Linked DNA regions of Homo sapiens: all the other regions are linked to region 3. The links are contacts of gene promoters, found by promoter capture Hi-C in blood cells and fetal thymus (Javierre and others, 2016). All regions are on one chromosome and are shown on one strand. The core of a region is centred on a gene start or on the middle of the fragment in contact, and the rest is flanking DNA. Distances in the headings are between cores, read along the strand shown.

Evidence for each region. Contacts are between HindIII fragments. The CHiCAGO score rates a contact against its expected background, and 5 or more counts as called.
Region 1: a fragment that was not itself captured here is called in contact with the fragment with the promoter of NSMCE1 in region 3 in 2 of 17 cell types (naive CD8 T cells and total CD4 T cells); the score reaches 5.8 in naive CD8 T cells.
Region 2: a contact is called between a fragment that was not itself captured here and the fragment with the promoter of NSMCE1 in region 3, in 11 of 17 cell types (activated CD4 T cells, non-activated CD4 T cells, naive CD8 T cells and 8 more). The highest score is 15.8, in activated CD4 T cells.
Region 4: a fragment that was not itself captured here is called in contact with the fragment with the promoter of NSMCE1 in region 3 in 10 of 17 cell types (total B cells, activated CD4 T cells, non-activated CD4 T cells and 7 more); the score reaches 9.6 in total B cells.
Region 5: a fragment that was not itself captured here is called in contact with the fragment with the promoter of NSMCE1 in region 3 in 9 of 17 cell types (activated CD4 T cells, fetal thymus, monocytes and 6 more); the score reaches 9.6 in activated CD4 T cells.

What each region holds. Positions count from the first base shown.
Region 1 is chr16:27,477,316-27,480,015 of GRCh38, forward strand. It overlaps GTF3C1 (general transcription factor IIIC subunit 1), which reads right to left. Exons shown (of 37, transcript NM_001520.4): 28 at 1,154-1,216. Among named protein-coding and RNA genes, the nearest start is that of IL21R-AS1, 25 kb to the left of the region's middle. The HindIII fragment of the contact is 5,121 bases long and covers 1-2,700 here.
Region 2 is chr16:27,451,611-27,454,387 of GRCh38, forward strand. IL21R (interleukin 21 receptor) reads left to right here. Exons shown (of 9, transcript NM_181078.3): 9 at 1-432. IL21R-AS1 (IL21R antisense RNA 1) reads right to left here and starts at 1,783. Exons shown (of 3, transcript NR_037158.1): 1 at 1,487-1,783; 2 at 1,133-1,312. RefSeq lists an enhancer at 1,191-1,290. The HindIII fragment of the contact is 2,351 bases long and covers 267-2,617 here.
Region 3 is chr16:27,267,458-27,270,157 of GRCh38, forward strand. NSMCE1 (NSE1 component of SMC5/6 complex) reads right to left here and starts at 1,315. Exons shown (of 8, transcript NM_145080.4): 1 at 1,249-1,315. It overlaps NSMCE1-DT (NSMCE1 divergent transcript), which reads left to right and starts at 748. Exons shown (of 5, transcript NR_037184.1): 1 at 748-787. RefSeq lists a silencer at 1,209-1,288. The HindIII fragment of the contact is 3,617 bases long and covers 1-2,513 here.
Region 4 is chr16:27,433,925-27,436,693 of GRCh38, forward strand. It overlaps IL21R (interleukin 21 receptor), which reads left to right. Exons shown (of 9, transcript NM_181078.3): 3 at 423-525. Among named protein-coding and RNA genes, the nearest start is that of IL21R-AS1, 18 kb to the right of the region's middle. The HindIII fragment of the contact is 7,943 bases long and covers 1-2,769 here.
Region 5 is chr16:27,416,995-27,419,694 of GRCh38, forward strand. All of the region lies in intron 1 of IL21R (interleukin 21 receptor), which reads left to right. Among named protein-coding and RNA genes, the nearest start is that of IL21R, 16 kb to the left of the region's middle. The HindIII fragment of the contact is 5,619 bases long and covers 1-2,700 here.

The sequences.
Region 1 (2,700 bases), core at 28-2,527, 210 kb after region 3:
TTTTTTTTGAGACAGAGTTTTGCTCATGTCGCCCAGGCTTGAGTGCAATGGTGTGATCTCAGCTCACTGCAACCTCCGTTTCCCAGGATCAAGCGATTCTCCTGCCTCAGCCTCCCCAGCAGCTGGGATTACAGGCACCTGCCACGCCCAGCTAATTTTTGTATTTTTAAGTAGAGACGGGGTTTCACCATGTTGGCCAGGCTGGCCTTGAACTCTTGACCTCAGGTGATCCGCCGGCAGCGCCCTCCCAAAGTGCTGGGATTACAGGCGTGAGGCACTGTGCCTGGCCCCTTATTTTTGTTAACAGTTTCTTTTCTCTACCTTATTTTATTGTAAGAGCACAGTATATAACATATGTAAGATACAAAATATAAATTAATCAACTCTTTGTTATTGATAAGGTTTCTGGTCAACAGTAGGCTATCAGTGGTTAGGTTTTGAGGAGTCAAAAGTTACATGTGGGGCCAGGCATAGTGGCTTACACCTGTATATTAATCAACTGTTATTGATAAGGTTTCTGATCAACAGTAGGCTATCAGTGGTTAGGTTTAGGGAGTCAAAAGTTATACTTGGGTCAGGAGTGGTGGCTTACGCCTGTAATCCCAGCACTTTGAGAGACCAAGGTGGGCAGATCACTTGAGGCCAGGAGTTCCAGACCAGCCTGGCCAACACGGCAAAACCCCGTCTCTACTAAAAAATACAAAAATTAGCTGGGTGTGGTGGCAGGTGCCTGTAATCTCAGCTATTCGGGAGGCTGAAGAATGAGAATCACCTGAACCAAGGAGGCAGAGGCTGCAGTGAGCTGAGATCAATCCACTGCACTTCAGCCTGGGCGAAAGAGCAAGACTCCATCTCAAAAGAAAAAAAAAAGGAAAGAAAAAAAAAAGTTCTATGTGGATTTTTGACTGTGCAGGGGGTCGGCGTCCCCTTACCCACAAATTGTTCAAAGGTCAACTGTACTTACCTCTGAGGTTCTTGCACAAAAGCAGCATAGACAACATACAGAATGGGCATGGCTGTATGCCAGTAAAATTTTGTTCACACAAACAGGTAGTGGGCTGGATTTGGCCCTAGATTACCCCAGTGCAATAGGTTGTCAGCCATCAAGTTATTAAGCAGCTGAGGAAAAGCTACTCTATATATCAGTACTTACCTGTTAAGTTCATCCTCTTTCCTGGTTTGATCTTTTTCATCCCCAATTGCCAAAACTCGGTACCTGCAAAAGAAACATAACAGCATGTCAGTGAAACAAAACAGCTCCTCACTAAGCAAGCGGATGCTGGCTCAAGATGGCCATTTATTGGCTAAAGTGTTGGGAGTGGGAGAAATGTTAAACTCACCAAATGTCGAGTGCTGTGCATGTAAATTAAAATGAGAATATACCCTGTCCTGCCTGTTATAAAAAGGAGGGCTGAGAAAATGTGCAATGTTCACTCACCGACAATTATGTGGCAACACGGAAAAATGTGAACTGGCAAAGATCCACTGTTAATTGTAAGAGGAACAGCACCTAAAACTGTGGGTGTGTTACAATCCAAAAAAAAAAAAAAAGCACAAGAAGAAAATGTCCCACCCAGAAGTAATCTAAAAAAATTATTCTCATAGAAGAAGGAAAAAGGTGGTTCCCAGAGGCTGGGAAGTGGAAGGGAAGGAATGAAGAAAGGAAAGATGTTGAGCAAAGGGTATAAAGTTACAGTTAGACCAGAGGAAAAAGTTTTCATGATTTAAAACTGCATGGTGACCACAGTTAATAACACATTACATATTTTGAAATTACTAAAATAATAGATTTTTAAGGTTTGTATTGCCAACAAAAGAAGTTGGTGAGGCGACAGATATGTTGGTTAACTTGACTTCATCCTTCCTCAATGAACACATATATTAAAACATCACACTGTACCCCATAAATATATAAAATTATTATTCATCAATTAAAACAAAGAAATATGAAAATCCCCAAAGAGTAGCCATATTAGGTGTTGGAATTACAAACCATTTCCCCATTTTTTTTTTGAGTTTCATGTAATATTATTTTACTGTATGTATACCAAGCAAGTAAATTTAAGAATAAGTCATAGAACTGCCTTTTTATAAAATATGACAAATTGGCCATTTGTAGGACATTTCTTCGGTTTCTAACAAACTAACAGAAAAATTAATCTTGACTGCAATAGTAAATTCCTCTTATAATTTAGTGCCAAGAAAAAGAAACTTTTCAGAAAACGTGAAAACCACCTCTGCTTCCTGGGTTCAAGTGATTCTCCTGCTTCAGCCTCCCAAGTAGCTGGGATTACAGGCACGTGCCACCACGCCCAGCTAATTTTTGTATTTTTAGAAGAGACAGGGTTTCACCATGTTGGCCAGGCTGGTCTCGAATTGCTGACCTCAGGTGATCCACCCGCCTCGGCCTCCCAAACTGCTGGGATGATGGGTGTTAAGCCCCCACACCTGGCTTGGAACCATTTTCTATTCTGCCTTGCCTGCCAGAATGCTCAGGATCACAATCAGTATTAAACTGTTACACTTGCAACTTTTTCTTCTCTCTAAATGGTTCATGGGCTCTCCTTTAAAAATCTCTGTCTTCTTTTATGATTAAAAATTGTGGCCGGGTGCGGTGGCTCATGCCTGTAATCCCAGCACTTTGGGAGGCTGAGACGGGCAGATCACGAGGTCAGGAGATCCAGACCATCCTGGCTAACA
Region 2 (2,777 bases), core at 192-2,691, 180 kb after region 3:
CGGGAGGCTAAGGTGGGAGGATCGCTGGAGCCCAGGAATTTGAGGCTGCAGTGAGCTGTGATTACACCGTTGCACTCCAGCCTGGGTCACAGATCAAGACCCTGTCTCTTAAAAATAAAAGTTGGAGACAAGAGCTGGCTCACCTGAAAGGAGGGATTAGTAGGTAGGAGGGTGGATGGAGGATGGATGGATGTGTGGGTGGATAGGAAGATGGTATTAAGTTGGTGCAAAAGTCTTTGATATTACTCTTAATGGCTTTAATAAAAAGCTTGAAGGAAGAATGATTGGTTGGATAGACAGAGATAAATGCATACTGGAAACAAAGATAAAGATAAAACACAAGTTATACCAGGCCAGCAACTCTATTTTGTTCACTGCCTTTAGTCCCAGCCTGGCACATAGTAGGCACTCAATAAAGCCTGATTTGTAGCATTTGCTTATTTCCATGGTGTAATTTCATGCTCCTGATTTGAGTCTAAACACAGAGTTGGGAAGAGATATGCACAATCTGCCCTCCTGGCTGGTATGAGTGAGTCCCAGCTCACCGATGGTAGCCCAGAGAGAACATCAAGAGGAGTAGGGGGCTTCAGGGAGGAGGTGGTGTTGGTTGGACTTCGAAAAATGAATAGGAGGCTGGGAGTGGTGGCTCATGACTGTAATCCTAGCACTTTGGGAGGCCGAGGCGGGCAGATCATTAGAGGTCAGGAGTTTGAGACCAGCCTGGGCAACGTGGTGAAACCCAGTCTCTACTAAAAATACAAAAATTAGCTGGGTGCGGTGGCGGGTGCCTGTAACCCCAGCTACTCAGGAGGCTGAGGCAGGAGAATCTGAGAGATGGAGGTTGCAGCGAGCAGAGATCACACCACTGCACTCCAGCCTGGGTGACAGAGCGAGACTACGTCTCATAAAAAAAAAAAAAAAGGAAAAATGAATAGGCGTTGTTACATGTACCAGCTATTTGGGGCAGAGGGAAGAGCTTGGACAAAGGCCTGGAGGTACGACCAAGGGTCAGGAGCAAGTGGGACAGGCGCTCCTCGCCCTCCAAAGACCAGGCCAGAATTGCTGACAAGACTCACTGAAGAGGAAGGGGGACCGATAGCAACGTCACTTTCCCAGCTGCCGCATTCCTCACCTTGCCGTCTGCAAGCTCTGAGGGGCAGAGTCATCCGTCTGACAGATGAAATGAAGGCACAGCTCAGGCTGGTGACCTGCCTGAGGTCACACACTGAATGAGTGGTCGGAGCTGGAACCAGAACTCTGGGCTTCTGATGCCACTTTCAGCTCTTTTTCACCTTGCTCTGCTGGAACGTACCTAGATCAAGAGGTGAGGAAGGTTTAGCAGACGCCGTGGGTGCCTGCTGCATCTGCCTGTGCAGCAGTTTGGAGACGTGGCTGACCCCAGCTCTGGGAGTGGCTATGTGAACCAGGCCTGCCCAGTAGGACATTTCTTCCCCCTGGCAACAGTACAGTTTAGGGACAGACATACCCTAGCTGGTCCATGCTCTCTTTCTGCTGGGATTACTAAGCTGTAAGGAGGGTACTGGGAGGGGCAGCAAGAAACACACAAGAAAGCAGAGCTGAGAGATGGTAATAGCTCTTGAGATCCCGGATCCAGCCATGCCTGAAACCACGTTTCTCCTGGACCGTTTAGATACATGAGTATGGAAGTCATTATGCTGTTCACCATATGCTGGGCACATGGCAGGATTGTACATCCTGACCCTCTGTAGCCAGATGGGGCCATGTGACTGGCTGGGACTGGGCAGTTGTGAGCAGAAGTGATAAGTCTCACTTCTGGGCAGAGCATTTTTCAGATGGCTACCACACCCCCTGGGGTGTTTTTCCTCTGTCACAGAGACAGATGATGATGGTGACTGCTCCATCTGCCTGGGCACCTGGGTCCTTGAGCAAGGAGATACGGACTGAAGTTTCAGTTCACTTGTGATAGACGTGTATCGTGAGCAAGGAATCAATCCTTTGTTGTTCTAAGCTGCTGAGATGGGGCTGTTTGTTACCACAGCATAACCCTGCCTACCCTAGCTGAATCAATGAGCTGATAAATTTCCTTTTTTGCTTAAGCTGGTTTGAGGTGGGTTTCTGTCCCTTGCAGCAGAAAGTGTTCTAGCATTATTCTGATATTATCCCCACAGTAAGGACTCTCCTTCTATCCTAAGGAAGGACCTTGTATTAGTCCTTGTGTCACTATAAAGAAATACCAGGCTAGGCTGGGATCACGCCTATAATCCCAGCACTTTGGGAGGCCGAGGCAGGCGGATCCCTTGAGGCTAGGAGTTCAAGACCAGCCTGGCCAACATGGCAAAACCCTGTCTCTACTATAAATACAAAAATGAGTCTGGCATGGTGGCACATGCCTGTAATCCCAGCTACTCAGGAGGCTGAGACACGAGGATCACTTGAATCCGGGAGGCAGAGGTTGCAGTGAGCTGAGATGGCGCCACTGCACTCCACGCTGAGCGACAGAAAGATCCTGTCTCAAAAAATAAAAAAGAGAAATACCAGGGTCTAGGTAATTTACAAAGAGGCTTAATTGGCTCTCAGTTCTGCAGGTTGTGCAGGAAGCATGGCACCAGCATTTATTCTGGGTGAGGCCTCAGGAAGCTTCCAATCACAGCAGAAGGCTAAGGGGGAGCCTGCGTGTCACCTGGCAAGAGTAGGAGGAAGAGAGCAAAGTGGGAGGTCCCAGACTCTTTTAAACAACCAGATTGGCTGGGCACGGTGGCTGACGCCTGTAATCCCAGCACTTTGGGAGGCCGAGG
Region 3 (2,700 bases), core at 65-2,564:
CAGAGATAGACGTGACCATACAACAGCACAGTTCCTGTTTTCAAGGACACTCTCTATCCAGCGAGAGTGAGAAAAGTGAGTGAACAGAACAACTACAATCCAGGTCCCTCATCTGCAACCCTCAAATCTAAAAAGGTATGAATACTAGTGGATGATCGGATGCAGGGGAAAAAAAAAAAAAAGTCTGAATACCAAAACTTGTTTAAGTTGGAAAACTTGACCTGACTTAAGGTGAGGCTATTTATGGTTATTTATCCCAACAGTGTAAATATATGCATTTTTTTTTTTGAGACGGAGTTTCGCTCTTGTTGCCCAAGCTGGAGTGAAGTGGCACGATCTTGATTCACTGCAACCTCCGCCTCCCGGGTTCAAGCGATTCTCCTGCCTCAGCCTTCCGTCTCAGCCTCCCGAGTAGCTGGGATTACAGGCACGCACCACCACGCCCGGCTAATTTTTTGTATTTTTAGTAGAGACAGGGTTTCACCATATTAGCCAGGCTGGTTTCGAACTCCGAACCTCAGGTGATCCGCCCCCCTCAGCTTCCCAAAGTGCTGGAATTATAGCCGTGGGCCACCGCGACCAGGTCAATGTAATATATGCGTATCTTCATAACTTTAGCTGTGGAAAGGGTCGTGTATTTGATTACAAGCCGCTGCTCCAGCCCCCTCTGAGGGTGAAACCTAACATAGAACATAGGGACTTTACCTTTCCAAACTCCGAGAACTCCTCGATTTTAAACGCATCTGGCCTCGGGGCTGTAACATAAGCGGCTGCGGACTTGTACAAAGTAAGAAACTCCGTACACAAAACAGAGGGGAGCACGGAGGGCGGCGGGACAAAGAGGGTGGTCGGCAAAGGCTGTATTTTCCATAGATGTAATCACAGTTTGAATCGAATTTTATATTTTGCTTTTTCACCTGTTACAATGAAAAGTATCTTTACCTGTTAAATCGTAATTACGATTAAAAATATTTTTCACTAAATAGTAAGATTTTTAGATGTCTGCGTGTGTGTTGCGGGAGGACATCCCAGTCCGCTGTTTTCTGCGGCCCCTGTCTGGGCCTCAGTTTCCCCATCAAGAAGGGGGAAACCCCAAGACCCCAGTCCCCGAGTTCCACAGCCCACGGGGACCGACCCCGGGGCCGGACCCCACTGCCTGTCTCGCCCACCCCACCTTCCGTCCTCCCCTCGCCTTCCTTGAAGTCCCTCTTCTTTCCCCTCCAACCCCTAGCTCCCCACGTTACCCACCAGGGAGCCCAAGCGCATCCCAGGCCGCGCTAGCGGATACGGTCGCAAGGTGGACTCTTCTTCCTTTGAGGCGGGGCGAACGCGAACGCGGCGTTCCCATTGGTGGCCTGCGGCTTATTCGCCCGTCCGTTGAGTGACGCACTTCCGGTTCTCCGTTTGCGCCATTGCCCTGGTGGTTCCGCCTCGTGGGTTAGATCCCAAATTACGCCCGCTCTCGATCCTTAATAATGGGAAGGGGCTTCCACTTGTCGCCCTCCGCCTCCTGCACCTCAGTGACTTCCCTGACCAAGGAGGAAGAATTGGCGTGCAGCCTGGGCTTCCCTCAATGGCCACCATTCCGCTGGCACAATGTAGTGCCCTGCCCCGGGCCTCAGTTTCCCCATCTGTGGAACTGAGTGTGGCCTCGACGTCAAAAATGTGGACTCTGGTCCGGTCGCGGTGGCTCACGCCTGTAAGTAATCCCAGCACTTTGGGAGACCAAGGCGGGCCGATCACTTGAGGTCAGGAGTTCGAGACCAGCTTGGCCAACATGGTGAAACCCCCGTCCCTACTAAAAATACAAAAAGTAGCCGGGCGTGGTGGTGTGTGCCTGTAATCCCAGCTACCCGGGAGGCTGAGGCAGGAGAATCACTTGAACCCGAGAGGCAGAGGTTGCAGTGAGCCAGATCGTACCACAGCACTCGAGCCTGGGTGACAGAGCTCAAAAAAAAAGAAAAGAAAAATGTGGACTCTGTGGTCATAGAGCCTGATCTAGAATCCTGGCTCTGCCACTTACTAGTTGGCAGGCGCTTGGGCAAGTCACTGAGCCTCAGTTTCCTCTTCCATTAAATGAGGATATTAGTTCTTGCAAAATAGTGTTGGTGAGATTTACAAGAGATAATAACACCTATATCAGGTGCTTAGCATGGCCATTGAAAAGTGTCACATGGGAGTGCTGATTATATGTTAACTGTTATCTTACCTAGGGATTGTGAGAAAGCAAGTGAAATTACTCGTGGAAGTGAATGGACTGCTTTGAGTCTTCAAGGCGTTAATTTTCCAAACGTTTGAATTCTATCCCTGGTCTGAGAGCTAGGGATGCAGCCTAGCAAGGGAAACAGGTAACTAATATAGAACAGCAGTACCTGCAAATATCTGTCTCTGTGAGGATAGATCAAATCCAGGCTTGGTCACTCACCACCCCTGTGATCTTGGACAACCTCTTAACCTCTCTGGGCTTCAGTTTCATCTGCTAAGTGGGAAAGCAGTGGTGTGTGGTGATTAAAAGCTTCAGCTTTGGAGCTGGATGGTCAACATGGAATCCTGGGCCTTAAACTCAGTGTCTCTGAGACATAGGACAAAGTACAGTCAGCTGTCCATGTTTACAGGTTCCCCATCTACGGATTGAAGCAACTGTGGGTGGTTAATATTTGTGGGGGAAAACAGTAAAAAATAACAGTTCAACAATAAAAA
Region 4 (2,769 bases), core at 20-2,519, 170 kb after region 3:
GGTCCTGACCCTCTTGGGGTGTGTGCGTGTGCTCTGGCTGGGTTCCTACCACATCTGGGGCATTTAGGATATTGCCATTCTGAGTGGGAGCTTGGCCAGGAGGGACACAGACCTGGTGGCCGGGCGCAGGGCTCTGGAGGAGGGTGCTGAGCTGGGGACCAGCTAGTTTTATATTATTTGCCATCACATGCATCCTGTCTTCATAGCCAGCCTTGAAACATTGGTGCTCAAACAAGGAATTTCCAGGTGGTGAGGCCCCCTGGGTGCCAGGCCTACATCTAAGCAGCTCCTGAGTCCTCATATTTGTCCCGGCCTGGGGACCCCTGCACCCATTCTTCCTCCAGCCCTCGAGGGGATGGAGAGGAAGCTCTGCAGTCCCAAGCCACCCCCCACCAAGGCCTCTCTCCCCACTGACCCTCCAGGCTGGGGCTGCCCCGACCTCGTCTGCTACACCGATTACCTCCAGACGGTCATCTGCATCCTGGAAATGTGGAACCTCCACCCCAGCACGCTCACCCTTACCTGGTAAGTAGCCGGGCCTCACCAGTCCCCGGGGATGCAATTCAGGGTGCCTGCTCAGTGATTCCCCCAGGAGGACACTGTGCACTGAGGACCACTGTGTCCGCCTTTCAGACAACCACTCAGGGCTCACAGGACTTGAAAAGTCAGGAGCCCGCAGGGTTGGTCTATCCACCAGCTTCAAAGGCCACTCTCTCACCCACACAGGTCGGCCATGGTTTTGAGACCCCGGGATGGCTGGTTTCCCGCATGATTTTTCAAGCACTTAGGTACCAGGCCCCCAACTACACGCTTCCCATGAATGGTCACCCCCAACCCTCACAATGATTACTCCCATTTTACAGATGAGGACATTGAGGTTCAGAGAGGTTAAGCAACTTGCCTAAGGTCACACAGCCAGTGAATGCTGGAGCTGGGATTCAAATTCAGACCGCCCAACTCCAAAGTCCATGGGTCCCTTTTAGACCCTATGCAGCTCAGGATAAAGAAGAGCTTCTGTTATCCATCAGCTCATTCATTCATTCAAAACCATTTATAGGCCAGGTGCAGTGGCTCATGTTTCTAACCCCAGCACTTTGGGAGGCCAAGGAAGGAGGATCACTTGAGCCCAGGAGTTTGAGACCAGCCTGGGCAACATCACAAAACCCTGTCTCTACAAAAAATAAATCAGTCGGGCGTGGTGGCACAATCCTGTAATCCCAGCTACTTGAGAGTCTAAGGCAGGGGGACCAAGCTCAGGAGGTCGAGGCTGCAGTGAGCTATGATCACGCCACTGCACTCCAGCCTGGGCAAAAAAGCAAGATCCCAACTCAAAAACAAAACAAAACAAAACAAAACATGTATTAAGTTCCTGCCAGACACTGTTGCAGGCACTGGGGATTCAGCAGAGCAAGACTGACCAGGCCCCAGATGCCTTGGAACTGACGTACCACGGTGGGGCGGAGGCTGGGGGAGACAGACACACAAAACAACCAACAAGGTGCTTTCTCTTTTTTATTTTATTTTATTTTATTTTATTTTATTTTTTTGAGACAGGGTCTTGCTCTGTTGCCCAGGCTGGAGTGCAGTGGTGGGATCAGAACTCACTGTAGCCTTGACCTCCTGGGCTCAAGCAATCCCTCCACCTAAGCCTCCTGAGTAGCTGGGACTACAGGCATGCATCACCATACCTGGATAATTTTTGTAGTTTTTGTAAAGACAGGGTTTTGCCATGTTACCCAGGCTGGATTCAAACTCCTGGGCTCAAGCAATCTGCCCACCTCAGCCTCCCAAAGTGCTGGGATTACAGGTGTGAGCCACCATGCCAGGCCCAAACAGGACACTTTCTTTCTTTCTTTTTTTTGGAGACGGAGTCTCACTCTGTTGCCCAGGCTGGAGTGCGGTGGCATGATCTCGGCTCACTGCAACCTCCACCTCCTGGGTTCAAGCAATTCTCCTGCCTCAACCTCCCAAGTATCTGGGATTGCATCCAGGTGTGCACCACCATGCCTGGCTAATTTTTGTATTTTAAGTAGAGACAGGGTTTTGTCATGTTAGCCCACCTGGTCTCGAACTCCTGGCCTCAAGTGATCCGCCCACTGTACCCGCCTTTCAGACAACCACTCAGGGCTCACAGGACTTGAAAAGTCAGGAGCCCGCAGGGTTGGTCTATCCACCAGCTTCAAAGACCACTCTCTCGCCCACACAGGTCGCCCATGGTTTTGAGACCCCGGGATGGCCGGTCTGCCGCATGGCCAGCCTCCCAAAGTGTTGGGATTACAGGCATAAGCCACCGTGTTCTGCCCCAAACAGGATACTTTCTAATAATACTGGGTGCTATATCAAGGACAGAACACTGGACCTCAGGTAAAGGGACCACAACTGCTAGTGAGAAGGAGGAAGCCAGGGAGCTGGGCAGAGGGCACTGCCAGTGCAAAGGCCCTGTGGGAGAAGAGCTGGTGCGTTTGAGGAATAGGGAGGAGGTCAGTGTGGCTGGAGTGGAGTGAGGCAGGGTGAGGGGGAATAAGGAGCAAGTTCAGGCTGGGAGGCTTGGAGAGCATTTATTCAGCAGGAACTTGTATTCCAGCAAATTTGGCAGAGAACTCAGTCCACACATCCCTACTGGGCCTAGAGAGTGGTCATGTTCAGATCCTGAACATCTAGGTAGGGAAATTAATATCCGGTAAACTACTATACATACTTCAAAACCCATCATTTTTGTCCAGTGGGAGTTAAAAAGCCACAGCATTTTCCCTAATCCCATCCCACCAA
Region 5 (2,700 bases), core at 166-2,665, 150 kb after region 3:
TACTACATTTCTTTATCCATTCACCAGTCGATAGAAATTTTGCTTGTTTCCAGTTTTTTGGTATTATGAATAATGTTGCTGTGAATATTTGTCTACAATGGTTTGTACATTTCTTTCTGGACATATATCCGCAATTGTTTTCTTTCCTTTTTCTTTCTTTTTTCTTTTCTTTTTTTTTTTTTTTTGAGACAGGGTCACACTCTGTCACCCAGGCTGGACTGCAATGGTGTGAAAACAGCTCACTGTAGCCTCAAACTCTTGGGCTCATGTGATCCTCCCACCTTAGCCTCCTGAGTAGCTGGGGCCACAGGTACATACCACCATGCCCAGAAAATGTTTTCATTTTAATTTTTGTAGAGATGAGGTCTTGCCATGTTACCCAGGCTAGTCTCAAACTCCTGGGCTCAAGCAACCCTCCCGCCTTGGCCTCCCAGTATGCTGGGATTACAGGCATGAGCTACTGCATCTGGTCAATTCTTTTCACTATATAACTAGGTGTGAAATTTCTTGGTCATATGGAAACAGTCATACATTGCTTAATGACGAGGATACATTCTGAGAAATGTGTCATTAGGTAATTTTGTCATTGTGTGAACGTCATAGAGTGCACTTACACAAACCTAGGTGGTATAGCCTACTACACACCTAGGCTGTATCTTACAGCCTATAATTGGCTACAAACCTGCACAGCATGATACGGTACTGAATACTGTAGGCAACTGTAACACAATTGTAAGTATTTGTGTATCTAAACATAGAAAAGGTACAGTGAAAACATAATATAAAATATGAAAAAACGGCACACCTGTGTAGGGCACTTACCATGAATGCAGTTTGCAGGATTCGAAGTTGCTCTGGGTGTCAGTGATTAAGTGCTGAGGGAATGTGAAGGCCCAGGACATTGCTGTACACTCCTGTAAACTTTATCAACACTGAACTCTTAGGCTACTCTAAATTTATTTGAATTTTTAAAATAATAAATTAACTTTGGCTTACTGTAACATTTTTCCTATTTTATTTATTTTATTTTATTTTATTTTATTTTATTTTATTTTATTTTATTTTATTTTATTTATGTTATTTTATTTTATTTAAGACGGAGGTTCGCTCTATCGCCCAGGCTGGAGTGCAGTGGCGTGATCTCGGCTCACTGCAAGCTCCGCCTCCCGGGTTCACGCCATTCTCCTGCCTCAGCCTCCCAAGTAGCTGGGACTACAGGCGCCTGCCACTGCGCCCGGCTAATTTTTTGTATTTTTAGTAGAGATGGGGTTTCACGTGCTAACCAGGATGGTCTCGATCTCCTGACCTTGTGATCTGCCCGTCTCGCCCTTCCAAAGCGCTGGGATTACAGGCGTAAGCTACCGCGCCCGGCCCTATTTTATTTCATTTTTTGAGACAGAGTCTCACTCTATCACCCAGGCTGGAGTGCAGTGTCGCGATCTCAGCTCACTGCAACCTCCGCCTCCCAGGTTCAGGCAATTCTCCTGTCTCAGCCTCCAGAGTAGCTGGGACTACAGGTGCGCGCCACCACGCTCGGCTAATTTTTTTGGTATTTTTAGTAGAGACGGGGTTTCACCATGTTAGCCAGGATAGTCTTGATCACCTGACCTCGTGATCTGCCCGCCTTGGCCTCCCAAAGTGCTGGGATTACAGGCATGAGCCGCTGCGCCCCGCCAACATTTTTTCTTTATAAACATTTTAACTTTTTAAAACTTTTTGAATAACACTTTTGTAATAACAGTTATCTTATTGTAATAACACTTAAGTGTTTTCGTGCACTCTTGTACTAACACTTAAGACACAAACACATTGTACAGCTATACAAAATATTTTTCTTTATATTCTTATTCTAAAAGCCTTTTTATATATTATATTTTAAAATTTTTTATTTTTTATTTTTTTACTTAAAAAAATTTTTTTTTGTTAAAACCTAAGACACGCGGGGCATGGTGGCTCATGCCCGTAATCCCGGCACTTTGGGAGGCCAAGGAGGGCGGATCGCCTGCAATCAGGAATTCGAGACCAGCCTGGCCAACATGGTGAAAGCCCCATCTCTACTAAAAATACAAAATTGGCCAAGCATGGTGGCGGGCGCCTGTAATCCCAGCTACTTGGGAGGCTGAGACAGGAGAATCACTTGAACCCGGGAAAACCAACACCACGCCATTGCACTCCAGCCTAGGCAACAAGAGCAAAACTCCATCTCAAAAAAACCCAGAAAACAAAAAACAAAAAATCTAAGACACAGGCAGACACATTAGCCTAGGCCTACACAGGGTCAAGATCACCAATATGACTGTCTTCCACCTCCACATTTTGTCCCACTGGAAGGTCTTCAGTGGCAAAAACACACATGGAGCTGGCATCTCCTATGATAATGATGCCTTCTTCCGGAATCCATCCTGAAGGACCTGCCTGAGGCTGTTTTACAAGTTAACATTTTTTGTTTGTTTTTAAGAGTCTTGCTCTGTCACCCAGGCTGGAGTGCAGTGGCACAATCTTGGCTCACTGCAGCCTCCACCTCCTGGGTTCATGCGATTCTTGTGCCTCAGTCTCACGAATAGCTGGAATTACAAGCACACACCACCGTGCCTGGCTAATTTTTGTATTTTTAGTAGAGATGGGGTTTCACCATGTTGGCCAGGCTGGTTTCCAACTCCTGACCTCAAGTGATCTGCCTGCCTCAGCCTCCCAAAGTGC